Regions from separate parts of the Homo sapiens genome. Here regions 1, 2, 4, 5 and 6 are each linked to region 3. The links are contacts of gene promoters, found by promoter capture Hi-C in human tissues and cell types (Jung and others, 2019). All regions are on one chromosome and are shown on one strand. The core of a region is centred on a gene start or on the middle of the fragment in contact, and the rest is flanking DNA. Distances in the headings are between cores, read along the strand shown.

The links. The method cuts DNA at HindIII sites, captures the fragments that hold promoters and counts their contacts. A contact is called where the count stands out against the background at its distance.
Region 1: a contact is called between a fragment that was not itself captured here and the fragment with the promoter of FZD4 in region 3, in 2 of the 25 tissues and cell types used here (adrenal gland and heart right ventricle).
Region 2: a contact is called between a fragment that was not itself captured here and the fragment with the promoter of FZD4 in region 3, in 3 of the 25 tissues and cell types used here (adrenal gland, bladder and thymus).
Region 4: a fragment that was not itself captured here is called in contact with the fragment with the promoter of FZD4 in region 3 in 2 of the 25 tissues and cell types used here (heart right ventricle and thymus).
Region 5: a fragment that was not itself captured here is called in contact with the fragment with the promoter of FZD4 in region 3 in 7 of the 25 tissues and cell types used here (H1 embryonic stem cells, bladder, heart left ventricle and 4 more).
Region 6: a fragment that was not itself captured here is called in contact with the fragment with the promoter of FZD4 in region 3 in 1 of the 25 tissues and cell types used here (heart right ventricle).

What each region holds. Positions count from the first base shown.
Region 1 is chr11:87,116,345-87,119,044 of GRCh38, reverse strand. The region is part of intron 4 of TMEM135 (transmembrane protein 135); the gene reads right to left. Among named protein-coding and RNA genes, the nearest start is that of TMEM135, 80 kb to the right of the region's middle. The HindIII fragment of the contact is 5,171 bases long and covers 1-2,700 here.
Region 2 is chr11:87,155,664-87,158,363 of GRCh38, reverse strand. TMEM135 (transmembrane protein 135) reads right to left here. Exons shown (of 15, transcript NM_022918.4): 5 at 958-1,023. Among named protein-coding and RNA genes, the nearest start is that of TMEM135, 120 kb to the right of the region's middle. The HindIII fragment of the contact is 6,922 bases long and covers 1-2,700 here.
Region 3 is chr11:86,954,043-86,956,742 of GRCh38, reverse strand. It overlaps FZD4 (frizzled class receptor 4), which reads left to right and starts at 1,348. Exons shown (of 2, transcript NM_012193.4): 1 at 1,348-1,942. The coding sequence starts at 1,658. It overlaps FZD4-DT (FZD4 divergent transcript), which reads right to left and starts at 1,122. Exons shown (of 3, transcript NR_038905.1): 1 at 1,031-1,122. RefSeq lists silencers at 621-770, 1,121-1,490, 1,621-1,670. The HindIII fragment of the contact is 8,131 bases long and covers 1-2,700 here.
Region 4 is chr11:87,138,094-87,140,793 of GRCh38, reverse strand. The region is part of intron 4 of TMEM135 (transmembrane protein 135); the gene reads right to left. Among named protein-coding and RNA genes, the nearest start is that of TMEM135, 100 kb to the right of the region's middle. The HindIII fragment of the contact is 5,935 bases long and covers 1-2,700 here.
Region 5 is chr11:87,096,809-87,099,508 of GRCh38, reverse strand. All of the region lies in intron 4 of TMEM135 (transmembrane protein 135), which reads right to left. Among named protein-coding and RNA genes, the nearest start is that of TMEM135, 60 kb to the right of the region's middle. The HindIII fragment of the contact is 5,790 bases long and covers 1-2,700 here.
Region 6 is chr11:87,177,850-87,180,610 of GRCh38, reverse strand. All of the region lies in intron 5 of TMEM135 (transmembrane protein 135), which reads right to left. Among named protein-coding and RNA genes, the nearest start is that of TMEM135, 140 kb to the right of the region's middle. The HindIII fragment of the contact is 5,072 bases long and covers 1-2,761 here.

The sequences.
Region 1 (2,700 bases), core at 81-2,580, 160 kb before region 3:
TAAAAGTGCTATAACAGTGAATACACGAATGACAAGAAAGCAAAACAGCCTTATTGCTGACACAGAGAAAGTTTTAGTGGTCTGAATAGAAGATTAAACCAACCACAACATTCCCTTCACCAAAACCTAATCCAGAGCAAGGCCCTAACTCTCTTCAATTCTATGAAGGCTGAGAAAGGTGAGGAAATTGCAGAAGTGTGAAGCTAGCAGAGGTGGGTTCATGAGATTTAAGGGAAGAAGCTATCTCCATAACATAAAAATGCAAGGTGAAGCAGCAAGTGCTAACATAGAAGCTACAGGAAGGGCTGGGCACGGTGGCTCACGCCTGTAATCCCAGCACTTTGGGAGGTCACGATGGGCGGATCATGAGGTCAGGAGAGCAGCTTGGCCAACATAGTGAAACCCCATCTGTACTAAAAATACAAAAAATTAGCTGGGCATGGTGGCAGGCACCTGTTATCCCAGCTACTTGGGAGGCTAAGGCAGGAGGATCACTTGAACCCGGGAGGTGGAGGTTGCAGTGAGCTGAGATCGTGTCATTGCACTCCAGCCCGGGCAACAGTGTGACACACCGTCTCAAAAAAGAAAAAAAAAAAGCTACAGGAAGTTATCCAGAAGATCTAGCCAAGATTGTTGATGAAGGTGGCTATACTAAACAACAGATTTTAGACAAAGGAGCCTTACATTGGAAGAAGATGTCATCTATGACTTTCGCAGCTAGAGAAAAGAACTCAATGCCTGGCTTCAAACCTTTAGAGAACAGACTGACTTTCCATACAACTGGTGACTTTAAGTTTAAGCCAATGACCATTTACCATTCTGACAATACTAAGGCCCTTAAGAATTACCTAAATCTACTCTGCCCATGTTCCATAAATGAAACAACAAAGCACACGTGTTTATAGCATGGTTTACTGAATATTTTAAGCCCACTGCTGAGACCTGCTACTCAGAAAAAAAAAATTCCTTTCAAAATATTACTACTCATTGACAACACACCAGGTCACCCAAGAGGTTGGATGTACAAGATTAATGTTGTTCTCATGCCTGCTAATACAATATCCATTCTGCAGCCCATGGATCAAGGAGTAGTTTGAACTTGCAAATCTTATTACTTACAACTATTTCATAAAGCTATAGTTGCTTTATGAGTGATTGATGAGAGAATGATTCCTCTGATGGATTGGGGCAAAGCAAATTGTAAACCTTCTGGAAAGAACTCACCATTCTACATGCCATTAAGGACATTTGTGATTCATGGGAGGTGGTCTAAATATCAACATTAACAGGAGTTTGGAAGCCACTGATTCTCACCCTCATAGATGACGTAGAGGGGTTCAAGACCAGTGAAGGAAGTAAATGCAAATGTGGTTGAAAGAGCAACAGAACTAGAATTAGAAATGAAGCTGGAAGATGTGACTGAATGCCTCCAATCTCATGATAAATCTTGAACAGATCAGGAGTTCTGTTTTTTTCTTATGAATGAGCAAAAAAAGAGGTTTCTTGAAATGAAATTTACTCCTGGTGATTATGCTGTGGACATTATTGAAATGACAACAAAGAATTTAGAATATTACATAAACTTAATTGAGAAAGCAGCAGCAGTGCTTGAGAGAATTGACTCCAATTTTAAAAGAAATTGTACTGTGGATGAAATGCTATCAAACAGCACTGCATGCTTCAGAGAGATCTTTCATGAAAGAAAGAGTCAATCAATATGGCAAATTTCATTGTTGTCTTATATTAAAAAATTGGCACAGTCATGCCAACCTTCAGCAACTACCACCTTAACTAGCAATCATCAACACTGGGGCAAGGCCTTCCAAAGATTATGACTTCCTGATCATTCCTGATATCACTATCAACTTGTAGCTATAAGTTTTTTTTAATTAATGTGTGTACTTTGTTTTAAACATAATGCTTTGGCTGGGCGCGGTGGCTCACGCCTGTAATCTCAGCACTTTGGGAGGCCGAGGCAGGTGGATCATGAGGTCAGAAGTTAGAGACCAGCCTGACCAACATGGTGAAACCCCATCTCTACCATAAATACAAAAATTAGCCATGTGTGGTGGCACATGCCTGTAATCCCAGCTACTCAGGAGGCTGAGGCAGGAGAATCATTTGAACCCAAAAGGCGGAGGTTGCAGTGAGCCGAGATCACGCCACTGCACTCTATCCTGGGAGACAGAGTGAAATTTCATGTCAAAAAAAAAAACAAACCATAATGCTTTGCACATAAAACTACAATATAATGTAAACATGATTTTTATATGCACTGGAAAAGCAAAAAATAATTCATGTGAATCATTTTATTACAGTATTCACTTTATTGCAGTGGTCTAGATCCAAACCCATGATATCTTTGAGGTATGCCTATACTATATGTATGTGTGTGTCTGTGTGTGTGTGTGTGTATGTGTGTGTGTGTGTTTGTACATATATACTATAAATCTTAATAGATATTAATCAATTTATACCAATCCTATTAAGACAGCTAATTTAAATGCATCTAAAATAAATGTCATAATTTAATTATAATTTTCCAATATCTGGAATCAATTAAGTTTCTGAAAAGTTTCAAGTGGGCCACCCAGTAATAAACACAAAATAAATTGTGTCTGCTGTCCTGTTAGTGATAATTTTTTATTGCTACCTCAGTTTCAGATGTCAGAGTAATGACTTCCATATTCTGATTGAAAT
Region 2 (2,700 bases), core at 185-2,684, 200 kb before region 3:
CACATTTATAGTCATGAAGTAATACAATTCTGTTTAACTCCTTAGATACTCACTTCCACTACTAAATATTTAGGTTTCTGAATTATAAATATTACATTAAATAACATCAAACTTAATTCAAGAATAGGGAATTCTAAGGGCTAGGCATGGTGGCTCATGCCTGTAATGCCGGCACTCTGTGAGGTAAAGGCAGGATAATCGCTTGAGGCCAGGAGTTCAAGACCAGCCTAAGCAACATAGCAAGACCCCATCTCCTCAAAAATAGGGATTTCTGTATTTTATCCTTAAGTATTTGCCATTAGAATAGAAAAAGGAACATAACAATTTGGTGTTACATTCGACCTCAACCTAAATTTGTCTTAGTAAAGGAGAAAATAAAGAAAGAGCAGACAAAGTGGTAATCAAGCTGGTAATAATTTTAACATGAAAATGTATGTGAGGTGATAGAAAAATCTTCTAAAGGATTGACAGGAGCATTTTAAAAAGTCAAAACTTAGCATCTGCAGACAAAATCCTCTCCAGCTTTTTTCTCCCTCTCCCTCTCCCTCTTCCTTCCCTTCTCTCCACGTGTAGTAAATGTTCAACATTTCCGATTATTTTATCTTAAGAAATAAGTATCAGTTCTGTATAACACAAAATAGAAAGAAAGCAAAAGCTAAGGAATTCTTTTTTTCATTACAAACATTTGTAGAAGTTACTAATAAAATGTCATTTTTTAAGAGTAAAGATATTTGATAACTAAAGGTAAAAAGACAGTAATTTGTTTTCAATCTAAGATCTGGTTCCAACATGACTATGAATTAAAATGGATTTGTTCATCAGGTACACTCAATATTATATACATCAGATATCTCTCTATTTCTTAGACAAAGCATCATAGATTTCATCACATTTTATATTTTAAAATCGCAAACTATAAATTAACAACTAATAACTATATCAAAATTCTCATCTTACTTCTCCATTTCTTAATGTTGTGATGGTTCCTCTTGCTACACCCATTCTGAATAGTGTTTCTGTGGCCTGTAAATTAAAAAAAAAAAACAGCAAAAATATATGATCTACAATCTCTCCTCAATTGTATATCCCACACCCTAAATGTGAAAAACATTCAATACTATTATATATCCAGCAACTTCTAGAGAACGATCAATAAGTTGTATATGCCTATAGTCCTAGCTACTCAGGCAAGAGGATCACTTGAGTCCAGGAGTTCAAGGCTACAGTGAGCTATGATTGAGCCACTGCCTAGATGACAGAGTGAGACCCTGTCTAAAAAAAAAAAAAAACAAAAGAAAGAAAGAAAGAAAAGAAATGCAACGCAACTAGAGAACCATCTACAAGGCACAATAAGAGCTAGAAGTTATAAATTGTACCCCAGAAATATCATAATCACAATCTTTTAAGAGCTCAAACTTAATTGTTTCAAATGGTTATTTTGATAATCTGGTATTCTTCCAGGACTATAGTTTCGAATTAGTTTGCTTAGACAAGTTTAAACCTTAGTTTAATGAACAAAAATTAAGTTCAAATGTAGCATTTAAATTCAACTTGGAAGTTATCATTTATTCTGAATTTAGTTTCCATTTGAATTTAGTTCAAATCACTTATCTGCTACTAATATAGAGACAGGAGATAAAGTAATTTAGTAATGTCATATATTAGGTGACACACCAAAATAGTTATTGCTCACTATACACTAACAATGAACAATCAGAAAAGGAAATTAAGAAAACAATTCCATTTACAACAGCATAAAAAAAAACTCCTAGGGAAAAATAAAACAAGGAAGTGAAAGACTTGTAATCTGAAGACAACAAAACATTGCTGAAAGAAATTGAAGAAGACACAAATAAATAAAAAGACATCCTGTGCTCATGGTTTGGAATACTTATTATTAAGATGACAATACAACCCAAAGTGATCGACAGATTCAATGCAATCCCTATTAAAATCCCAATGGCACATGTTGCAGAACTAGAAAAATCCATCCTGAAATTCATATAGAACGTTAAGGGACCCCAAATAAACAAAACAAACTTGAAAAAAGAAGAAGAAAGTTGAAGGACTCACTTTCGGATTTAAAACTTACTACAAACCTACAGTAATCAAAAATATGTGGTACTATCATAAAGATGGACATCTAAGACAATGGAATAGAACAGAGAACCCAAAAATAAAACCTTGCATATATGATCAAATGATATTTGACCAGGGTAATAAGACTATTGAGTGCACAAAGGACAATCTTTTCAAAAGTACTTTAAAAAACTGGAAATCCATGAAACTGTCCTCACAGGCTTAACAAGAATTTTGAATAGAAATATAGTTATAATTAAGCATAAATCAGCTGCACTTTGACCCACTTCCTTGTAAGAAAAAGTCTAGAAACAGTACATACTGTCCATTTGAATCCCCATTGTTACTATAGATAGAATTTCTGACACTAAGGTTGTAAGACATTTTTTAAGACAGATAGGGTCTCTGATGTTAGAATCATAAGGCTTTTGCTTATTCAAGATATGGAATACTTAAACAGATCCTGAATTCCAGTAAAACAGCTGACACCAACCAACTTAAAGATCCCCAAAGAGGAACCAAATCAGCATGAGAATACAGTTCCTTTGTCTCCCTGTCCCATGATCTCACCCTGCACTCTTGGACCAACCAACCATCTCCAAACTCTGGCACACTCCAAAA
Region 3 (2,700 bases), core at 99-2,598:
CACCCCAATCACCAAGTTCTTCAGCATTTATTATGTGTCAGACACTGCTAAATGATTTACAGGTATTATCTCACTGAACTCTTAGAACAACTGTGTGAGGTGGATATGAACTTCCCCACTTTACAGCCGGCCACTTTGAGGCTCAGAGAGGCACCATAGCTTCAACACAGTCAAGCAACAAGTAAACGGTGGAGGAATCCACCTGCTGGGAGTTTACTGGCCGACTGGAAAGCAGAGAGAGGGTGGACCAGCACAAAGCCGCGGGGGGCTGGTAATGAGACAGGAAAGTTGGGTTCAAACCTGGGTCACATGATCCCCAGATCCCTAGGAGCCGAAGCAGAAGCAAAGAAAAAAAGGGGTGCAGCCTGGTGGGGAGGGGGTGCCCGGGAGGCCGGGAGAGAGGAGTCACGGTGGTTGTGCGCCTTCCTCGTCCCCAGTGCACAGGTCAAGCCTCTCCCCTCCCGCCCTCTCACCCTCCCAACCTTATTTAGAAACCGTGTCCCCGAGACAGGAAGGGCGGCGGGCCGAGAAGCACGGAGAGTCCCGGTCTCATTTCCTTTCGAATCCCCCTGTGGAATTTCATTTCATACGGTGAGGAAATCAGAGCGCGAGACCGTCGGCGGGTCTGCAGCTCCGCAGCTCTGGGGCGCCTCCCCGCTGGCGGCTGGAGGTGGGCGGCTCCCTGCGCAGGTCGGGCGAGTCTGGGGGCGGGGAGAGGCCGGGCCCCGATCGCCGCTGGTCCGGAGTGAAAATAGCTGTGGACTCACGCAGTACCAGGCACCATGCTAAGCCTTCTACACTTTATCTCTAATCCTCCCAAGTGACTTTACAGAGGAGACTGACGCCGAGGGGTTGAGCAATTTGCTCAAGGTCACACAACCGGGACTGAAAGCCACAATCGGTGTAAATCCAAATCCCCAATTCTTTGTGTACGTTTCTCTGCCTGACGGGGAGGTGGCCACCGGCCTAGGTTACAGCTGAAAGGAGACAGGAAGGAAAGGGGGCAGATGGAACAGGGCGCACTTCTCACCTGCAGAAGGGGGCAGGACGGCGTGGCTGGAGCCACTGGGCTGCGTCCCTGCTTGGCCCCTGCGCGCCTAGATCCGGGTGGGAGGAAAGCAAGAGCCGGGAGGCGGGCGGGGCGGGGCGCTAGGGGAGGGAGGGAGGGAGGGGCGGCCGGAGGAGGGGGCCGGAGGGCGGGGGCCTGACTCCTCCTGCGGGAGAGCGGCCCCGCCCCGCCGCCTCGCCCCTAGCTGCCCACCGCGCCCGGCCATTGGAGAGGCCCGCTGTCCGTCCCGCCCCGCCGCCGCGCCGCGAGCCTCCAGCGCCGCGCAGGGCTCCGGCGGTGAGAGCTGCGCAGCGCTGGCTGCTGGCTGGCCTCGCGGAGACGCCGAACGGACGCGGCCGGCGCCGGCTTGTGGGCTCGCCGCCTGCAGCCATGACCCTCGCAGCCTGTCCCTCGGCCTCGGCCCGGGACGTCTAAAATCCCACACAGTCGCGCGCAGCTGCTGGAGAGCCGGCCGCTGCCCCCTCGTCGCCGCATCACACTCCCGTCCCGGGAGCTGGGAGCAGCGCGGGCAGCCGGCGCCCCCGTGCAAACTGGGGGTGTCTGCCAGAGCAGCCCCAGCCGCTGCCGCTGCTACCCCCGATGCTGGCCATGGCCTGGCGGGGCGCAGGGCCGAGCGTCCCGGGGGCGCCCGGGGGCGTCGGTCTCAGTCTGGGGTTGCTCCTGCAGTTGCTGCTGCTCCTGGGGCCGGCGCGGGGCTTCGGGGACGAGGAAGAGCGGCGCTGCGACCCCATCCGCATCTCCATGTGCCAGAACCTCGGCTACAACGTGACCAAGATGCCCAACCTGGTTGGGCACGAGCTGCAGACGGACGCCGAGCTGCAGCTGACAACTTTCACACCGCTCATCCAGTACGGCTGCTCCAGCCAGCTGCAGGTGGGCGCCCCCACCCCCACCCCTGGCGGGACCCCTTGGGGAGGGACGCTCCAAACTAACTTTGCAGAGCCCATGCCAAGTTGATCATCCTAGCCCGAAGGAGACAGCTCTCCTGGAAAAGTGATTTCCATCCCCACCCCCACTTTCTCAGGGACTGGAAGCCAAAACGTTGTGTAAGTCATCTGGCCTGGGAAAGAACCCACTCTTACACCCCGCCCTTCCGTTTTTCTCTCTTGCCCACCCATGTCTGGCCCAGACCCCTAACCCCAGTGGAGCTGAGGGTTATCTCTGCCAAGGATTCTGGCCGCCACTGCTCGGTGGGCGAGTGGGAGGGAGCCAGCTGCAGCTAAGACTTGGAGGGAGTGATAAGGAGACCATCCTTCACCGAACTTCCTTCTCCCCACTATTTTTGGGGTGTTATTAAATGAAACACTACTGCACCTTTTTCTGCTGAATAGCCCCTTCTCACGACGTCCCGCAGCGTTTTAGAGGTCATGCATGAAGGAGTGGTTGGGTTGGCTTGAGTTCTTTCTTATCCTCACAGTTGAAGGCACGTTTAATGCTTGGAGGGTGAGAAGAAGCTGCAGGAAGGTGGTTGGTATATTGGAAGAAATTTTTTTGCAGTCATTAAAAAATGTAAAGCATATCTAATGATAGAGAAAATGTTTATTCCACAGTAATAAGAATTTGCATATACAGGGTGATTATAATCCTGCAAAATAAAAAATTTATTGGGATAATAAAAGACTGACAGGAAA
Region 4 (2,700 bases), core at 6-2,505, 180 kb before region 3:
CTCAAAATAAATCACAGACTTAAATGTTAGAGCTCAAAACATAAAACTTCTGGAAGAAAAACACTGGAGAAAACATTTATGATCTTGATTTGAGCAAAGATATACTACATTGGGGATAAAAAAACAAATATTAAAGAAAAAATTTCATCACTGCAGATTATACCATCCAAAGATGCCCACACCAAAATATATATCCTATCCCACATGTGCTTCTTAAAATGTGACATTGACTGTCCCCCATACATATTCCCTCTCCTTGTACCAGGGACCTTTAAAACTACCTTTGTAACTATAACATAAATAGAAGGAGGCAGAACAACTAATACATTGATAAAATGTGCCTAATCAAAATTAAAAACCTTTTGCTCTTTGCAGTCAAATTGTTTGCCCATGATAGCCCATTACTTAATTTAAAAAATGAAAAAGCAGCTGGGCGTGGTGGCTCACACCTGTAATCCCAGCACTTTGGGAGGCCATGGCAGGCGGATCACGAGGTCAGGAGATCGAGACCATCCTGGCTAACAGGGTGAAACCCCATCTCTACTAAAAATACAAAAAATTAGCCGGGCGTGGTGGCATGCACCTGTAGTCCCAGCTACTTCAGAGGCTGAGGCGGGAGAATTGCTTGAACCTGGGAGGTAGAGGTTGCAATGAGCTGAGATCACACCATTGCACTGCAGCCTGGGCGACAGAGTGAGGCTCCATCTCAAACACAAAAAAAAAGAAAGAAAGAAAAAGTAAGCCACAAACTCTGAAAAAATATCTGCAAATATATATGTGGCAAAGCACTTAAATTCAAAATATATAAATAACTCTTACTAGTCAAAAATAAGCTACACAACCCAAAAAATTGAAATGATCAAAAGATTTCAACAGATACTTGAACAAAAAAATCTACATATATCATATACATACTATATATGAATATATGTGCATATGTATACACACACACAAATATTTATGAATAGCCAAAGCCAACAAAAAGATGTTCAATATTATTAGTCTGTAGGAAAATGCAAATTAAAACCAAAATAAGATACCACTCCACATGCACTAGAACAAGTAAAAAGAATGACAATACCAAGTGATAGTGAGAATATGGAGATACTGGAACTCTCATATATTGCTGGCGGGAAGGCAAAATGGTACAGTCAGTTTGGAAAACAATTTGTCAGTTTCCTGTAAATTTAAACATATACTTACCATGAGGCCCAGCAATTCTATCCCTAGGTATCTACCCAAGATAAATGAAAACATATATCCATTTATATGAGCTATAGAAAAGCCAAAATTTTAGTGACAGAGAGCAGACAAGTGACTGCTTGGGATCTAGGACATGGGAAGAGAAAACCGCAAAGGGGAAAGAGGGGCTTTTTAAGGAAGAGAGAAATATTCTATATCTTGATTGTGCTTATAGTCACATGACTATAAACATTTGCCAAAACTCATCAAACTGTAAACTTAAAATACATGAAGTTCATTAAATATAAATAAGGCTGTTTTCTCAAAATACTACCTGTCCCTCCTCCCCAGTCCCACCCAAAAGTAGCTCTCAATTCAGTGGTAATTCAACTCCCCCTTATCATTGGGAAAAATCTGGGTACTACATTAATGAAAAATTTTTTAGGAAGGACACAGATGCTTTAGAAAGAAATTCATATGCTTTAGAGATAGATTTTATCTTAAATTCATATAAACTTCTTAAATTCATAGAAACTGGGAGCAGAGGTGGAAGCTGCCGAAAGCAACAGAAATACTAAAGCCAGTAATAAATACTAGAGATGAATAATCCAGGAAAGATGAAACAGAGCCTGCATGTCATACTCGTAGGTACGCTGGGGATCCAAGATAAGTAAGTTATGAAAACCCTGCATTCCATACAAAATTCCACATGTCACCAATTAAGAACCACTGCTCTAGTATACACTTAACTTGATCATGAAGAAAAATATGTACTCTATATAAAAACCAGCAAGTTGGCAAACAAGCATTGCCAATCTCACCTTTACTTGCAGATGAGTGCTCTTGCACCTGTGTTCCCATCCACCATTTGTCCAAGCAAAAAGTTGTCAGACCTGAATCCTTCTTCTGCCACAATGTATCATACTATATAGTAACTAATTATTCATTTACAATTCTCACTAGAATATAGATTCTATTTCACTAATATACCTCTGCCACTTACACCTGATAAACACTCAAAAAATATTGAATAAATGCAAGATGTAAGAGCTAATGAGTAAGTCATTGTTTGGACTATGTCAAGTAAGTGCTTATTTACTGATTATATTGGGGTATGTGGTTTAGCAAAGTATGAACAAATATTTCCTTAACTACATTAAAGCAATTTCAAATGCTGAAAAAATAATTCATTAGCTTTTCATATTAATGAAATCAATTTGGAGCTGGGCGCAGTGGCTCAAACCTGTAATCCCAGCGCTTTGGGAGGCCAAGGCGGGCGGATCACCTGAGGTCACGAGCTTGAGACCAGCCTGGCCAACATGGTGAAACCCCATCTCTATTAAAAATACAAAAATTAGCCGGGTGTGGTGGCGGGCACCTGTAATCCCAGCTACTTGGAAGGCTGAGGCAGGAGAATCACTTGAACCCAGGAGGCGGGGGTTGCAGTGGGCTGAGATCATACCACTGCACTCCAGCCTGGGTGACAGAGCGAGACTCAGTCTAAAAGGAAAAAAAAAA
Region 5 (2,700 bases), core at 37-2,536, 140 kb before region 3:
GTTGCTATGATGGAAATATTCTGTATCCTGACTGTATCAATTAAATATTCTGGTTTTGATATTATATTATATTATAGTTTTGCGATATGCTACCATTGGGGGAAAATGGGTAAAGAGAACATGGGATCCCTATATTATTTTTTATAATTGCATATGAATCTATAATTATTTCAAAATAAAAGTTTTAATTTTTTTTTAAATACAGTATTTTAAGTGTGCTCTCCAACATCAATAATATCAAAGTCAAAGATCTCTTTCCCAGGAATTCACAATCTAAAGCAGACAACACACAAAAGTTTTAGTAAGTTTACTTATAATTTTCAAATAAGTGTATGAATACGCACAGTATTTGGGTATTGAAGTACACAGCGTGTGCTACTATAGAAAAGCATGTGAGTGTCTAAAAAAATACACTAAAACTCAAATGTATGCTAGCGTGCAGGCATAATACTTTAAAGTTTTCTTGAAAACATAAGAAAAGCAGCACAACAACAAAGCCATTAAGAAAATTTAAGATATTTGGCTGGGCACGGTGGCTCACACCTGTAATCCAAGCACTTTGGGAGGCCGAGGCGGGCGGATCACGAGGTCAGGAGATCGAGACCATCCTGGCTGACATGGTGAAACCCCATCTCTACTTAAAATACAAAAAATTAGCCGGGCGTGGTGGTGGGTGCCTGTAGTCCCAGCTACTTGGGAGGCTGAGGCAGGAGAATGGCATGAACCCAGGAGGCGGAGCTTGCAGTGAGCCGACATGGCACCACTGCACTGCAGCCTGGGCGACAGAGCAAGATTCCATCTCAAAAAAATATATATATATATAAGATACTTTGTTATACAATATAAATAATCTATAACCAAGATTAATCAATTGTTTTAGATTCTTTTCAGGTTGTAGTATTTATTATCACTTAATAATTTAAGTTTATCATTTTAAAGTAGATGATTTCTTCAAGTTATTTATTTTTCTGGATTCTGATTACAACACCATGAGCTGGCAAAACAGGAGTGTTCACACGCAGTTCAAAATAAGTCATGTACTTCATCTATGTACCACAATCACCAACTTTTAATCTTTGTATCTTTTAATCTAAAATACAACATTAATGCAGTCAAATAAAGCAAGGTTTTACTTGTAAATAATATTACAGCAAAACCACCATTACTTTTGCACCAACCTAAAATATTTAAAACAAGCTTTAAAATAAACATCTAGGTTTAATCTGGTATGTCTCCTATAAATCCTTCTCTTTAACCCATTTATGCCTAGTGTTCCATTATTGGAACGCTAAGCTTACAGGAGTTATTATTTTCCTACTGCTCAAGGTCATCGCCAAGGTCTGATTTTTCACAAAAAAAAAAAAAATTTGCAACCTCCAGCATAGATGGGTTAATAAACACATTCATCTATGATTCATTTAACAAATTATGGCACAAAGTACATTTTAGGTACTGTTCTAGGCTTAATACAGCAATGTATAAAACACACAAAAACTCTACATTCATGAAGCTTAAATTCCAAGGTGGGAAGACAGACAATAAAATAATAAGCAAAAAAGATACATGTTAGATGTTGATCAACTCCATGAAAAAAAGATACAGAGGTTTGGGACTGCAGGGGTATAAGTTACATGAAGGGTGACTGTTACTATGTGAGATAGATGTGGAAGGCCTCACAACAGTGACATTTCAGCAGTCTCAGTGAAATGAAACAGCAAGCCATGCAGATATCTAGCGATAAGAGCTCAAAACAGAGCGAACAGCAAGTATCAAAGTCCTGAAGAGAAAGCATGCTTGTCATGCTCACTCAACACCAGAGAGGGCAGTGTGGCTGAAGTGGAGAATGAGGAAGCAGACAGTGGTGGTAAAAGGAAGCCAGAGAAACATAAAGACCCCCCCATAACCACAGGCTTCTTGCAAACCTCGAAAAGAGCCCTACAAAATCTGTTCACATAGTCACTTTGGTAACATTGGCAAAAGTAAGGTATTTTAACCATAGATAGTTAAGATTACTATCATTTTACATTCTGATTTCTCTGTCACACTTCACCTTGTGATGAACAGCACTAGGTTTTGGAATCCAGCTTGCTAGTAGAGTTGAGTTTAGCAAGATATATTGAGTTTGGGTTTAGCATGATATATTCATTAATTTACTTTCCAGTTGCTTTTAGGTATAGAACATTGATTCCTAGTGGCTCATTAAAAGAGTGGCAACCAGGCACGGTGGCTCACGCCTGTAATCCCAGCACTTTGGGAGGCCGAGGCGGGCAGATCACTTGAGGTCAGGAGTTCCAGACCAGCCTGACCAACATGGTGAAACCCCGTCTGTACTGGAAATACAAAAATTAGCCAGGCATGGCAGTGTGCGCCTGTAATCCCAACTACTCTGGGGACTGAGGCAGGAGAATCGTTTGAACCCAGGAGGCAGAGGTTGCAGTGAGCCAAGATCATGCCGCCGCACTCCAGCCTGGGTGACAGAGCCAGACCCTGTCTTGAAAAAAAAAAAAAGAGTGGCTTCCAGGAATACTCTACTGTCTACTGTGCCAACTTACCCCGTCAATGACACAAAGGTGAAGAACCAGAGGCCATAATGATATATAGATACATCCTAGGGTGCCAAGCCCTGAAAATATGTGGGTAATGAAAAAGAAATAAATTTAAAATGCACATGGCTAAAAGACAGATGGTTAAAACTTCTAC
Region 6 (2,761 bases), core at 208-2,707, 220 kb before region 3:
GTTATCAAACTTTTTATTTCATCTCCTTGAAAAAGTTCCACACATGCTCAGCTTAGGGATGTCTGGGTCTTCATGCACAGATTTAGGTCATCTTTTTCTCTACCTACTGCCTCTCCATAATTTCCCCAACACTATCTGTCTCCTAGACCCCTTATCTTAATTCTCTGGCTACAAAACTGGTGTTTTTGCCTCCACACACACTCATATACTTTCTGCAACTGCATCTGCCTTGGGGAGAAGTGGCAAGAAAGGGGGGAAAAAAGCAAAAACTAACAGATATTCTCCCCTCATTCTTTGGGCTACAGGGGCCCGTTTTTCCCGTTTATCTGGTCAAAGAAAAAGATTATCTTTCAGAGTTTTAAATGCCTGCATAGTTGCCATTGCCACCACCACTACCATTGCAGGGGAACGGCCTCATGATTAAGGCTTACTTGGGGTCCCACCAGAAAAGTAAAACAAAAACCAGAATACAAAACACAAAGAAAACAGTGATGTTCCACACAGACTCCTTCGCACAGGGGCCCTTCTTTCCAGTCCTCTGACCATAAACAGAGAAAAAGAGGATTCTTCTGTCTGCATCTGTTGTGCAGACCAAGAATAAGATGCCCTGGAGTCCAAGCTGGGAGAAAAAGAAAGGGGAAAAGGGCAGAGAAAACAACAACAACAACAACAGAAAAAAACAGAAAACTTGCCAGTATCAGTCATATCTCCAGGTTGGAAGTGCATCCTGAACCTCCTGCTATTATTTACTCTTCAGAGACCTCAAACAGCTGTGCTGTGTATTCTGTCCAGGGTTTTTAGTTGGAATGCACGGGACAGAGTCTTGCTCCATATTAGTAGAATCAGAACCACAGAAATTCTAGACATAAATCCTGATATTTATGGTCAACTGTTTTTTAACAAAGATGCCAAAGCAATTCAATGGGCAAAGACAGACTTTTCAAAAAATGCTGCTGGTACAACTGAATACACACAGGCAAAAAATTAAAAAAAAATGAACTTGGATTTTCACCTCAAACCGTATTTAAAAGATGAAACAAAGACTTATATGATCTGAAGAGAAACCAGAGTATCTCACACCATATTTAAAAGTAAACTCAAAACAGATCACAGACCTAAATGAAAAACAAAGGAGAAAATCTTTGTGACCCCCAACTAGGTAAAGATTTCTTGGATATGATAGCAAAAGTATAGCTCCTAACAGAAAAAAAAATTAATGAATGGAACATCATCAAAATTTAGAACATTTTGTCTTCAAAAAGCACTATTTAGAAAGTGAAAACACAGGCCACGATCTGGGAAAATATATTCCCAAATCCTATATTTAATAAAAGATTTGATCCAAAATGAAAAACTTTTCAAAGTCACCTCCTGCAATTCAGTAATAAGACAATAAACCCCATGAAAAAAGGGCAAGAAAATTTAATAGACATTTCACAAAATGTATACAAATGCCCAATAAGCACTATGAAAAGAAGTCCAACATCACTAGTCATTAGGGAAATGAAAATTACCATAAAAATTACCATACATTTCTAGAATGGCTATAATAAAATAGTCTGATCATACCAAATGTTGGCAAGGATGCTGACAAACTGGACCCCTCATACACTGCCAAGTGGCAATGTAAAATGGAACTACTTTTTTTTTAAGCATTATTCTTATGACCTAACAATTCTACATTTAGGTATCAAGCCAAGAGAAATTAAAACATATGTCAACCCAAAGACTTCTCTCCAATTTTCATAACTGAAAACTGGAAATAATCCAAATGGTCAATTAATATGTCCATAAACAAAATGTAATCCAAACAATGGAATACTATTCAGTCATGAAAAGGGAAAAAAAAAGTACTGATATGAATGAACCTCAAAAACATTATGTTGGACAGGCATGGTGGCTCACACCTATAATCCCAGCAATTTGGGAGGCCGAGACAGGCAGATCACTTGAGGTCAGGAGTTCAAGACTTACCTGGCCAACATGGTGAAATCCCGTCTCTACTAAAAATACAAAAATTAGCCAGGTGTAATGGTGCACCCCTGTAGTCCCAGCTACTCAGGAGACTCAGGCAGGAGAATCCCTTGAACCTGGGAGGCAGAGGCTGCAGGGAGCTGAAATCACTCCAGCCTGGGGAAGACAGTGAGACTCCATCTCAAAAAAACAAAACGCATTATGTTAAGGAAAGGAAGGCAGACTCAAAAGGGCATATATTGTATAATTACATGTATATAAAATTTTCAGAAAAAGAGAGTTTAGATTGTGGCATAATAAAAATATATCTGGACTTTGTTCCTAGTTCCTGGCACAGGGCTTCAAAAACCCTTGGAATTTCAAGGTGACAGTACTGTCTTTGCTATGCTGATGAGGTTGCTCATGGTGATAGCTTCCAGCTAGGGACTGGTCACCAAAAAAACCAAACACATGATTAGAGGGTTGGAACTCTAGGCCAACAGCACCTCCAAGGACAGGAGGGGAGCTGGAGACAGTTCAATCACATGGCCAATAATTTAATCAATCACACCCATATACTGAAACCCCAATAAAAGCTCTGAACACTGAGGCTTGGTGGACACACTGACATGCAGAGAGGGTAATGTACCCTGACTCTACAGGGAGAGGGCATGGAAGCTTTAGGTCCAGGTCCCTTCCAAACCTTGTCTTATGTGTACCCTTTATAATAAAACTATATAACATTTTTAGTGAGCTCTGTGAGTCATTCCAGAGAATTACTGAACCTATACATTTGGGAATCTCCAAT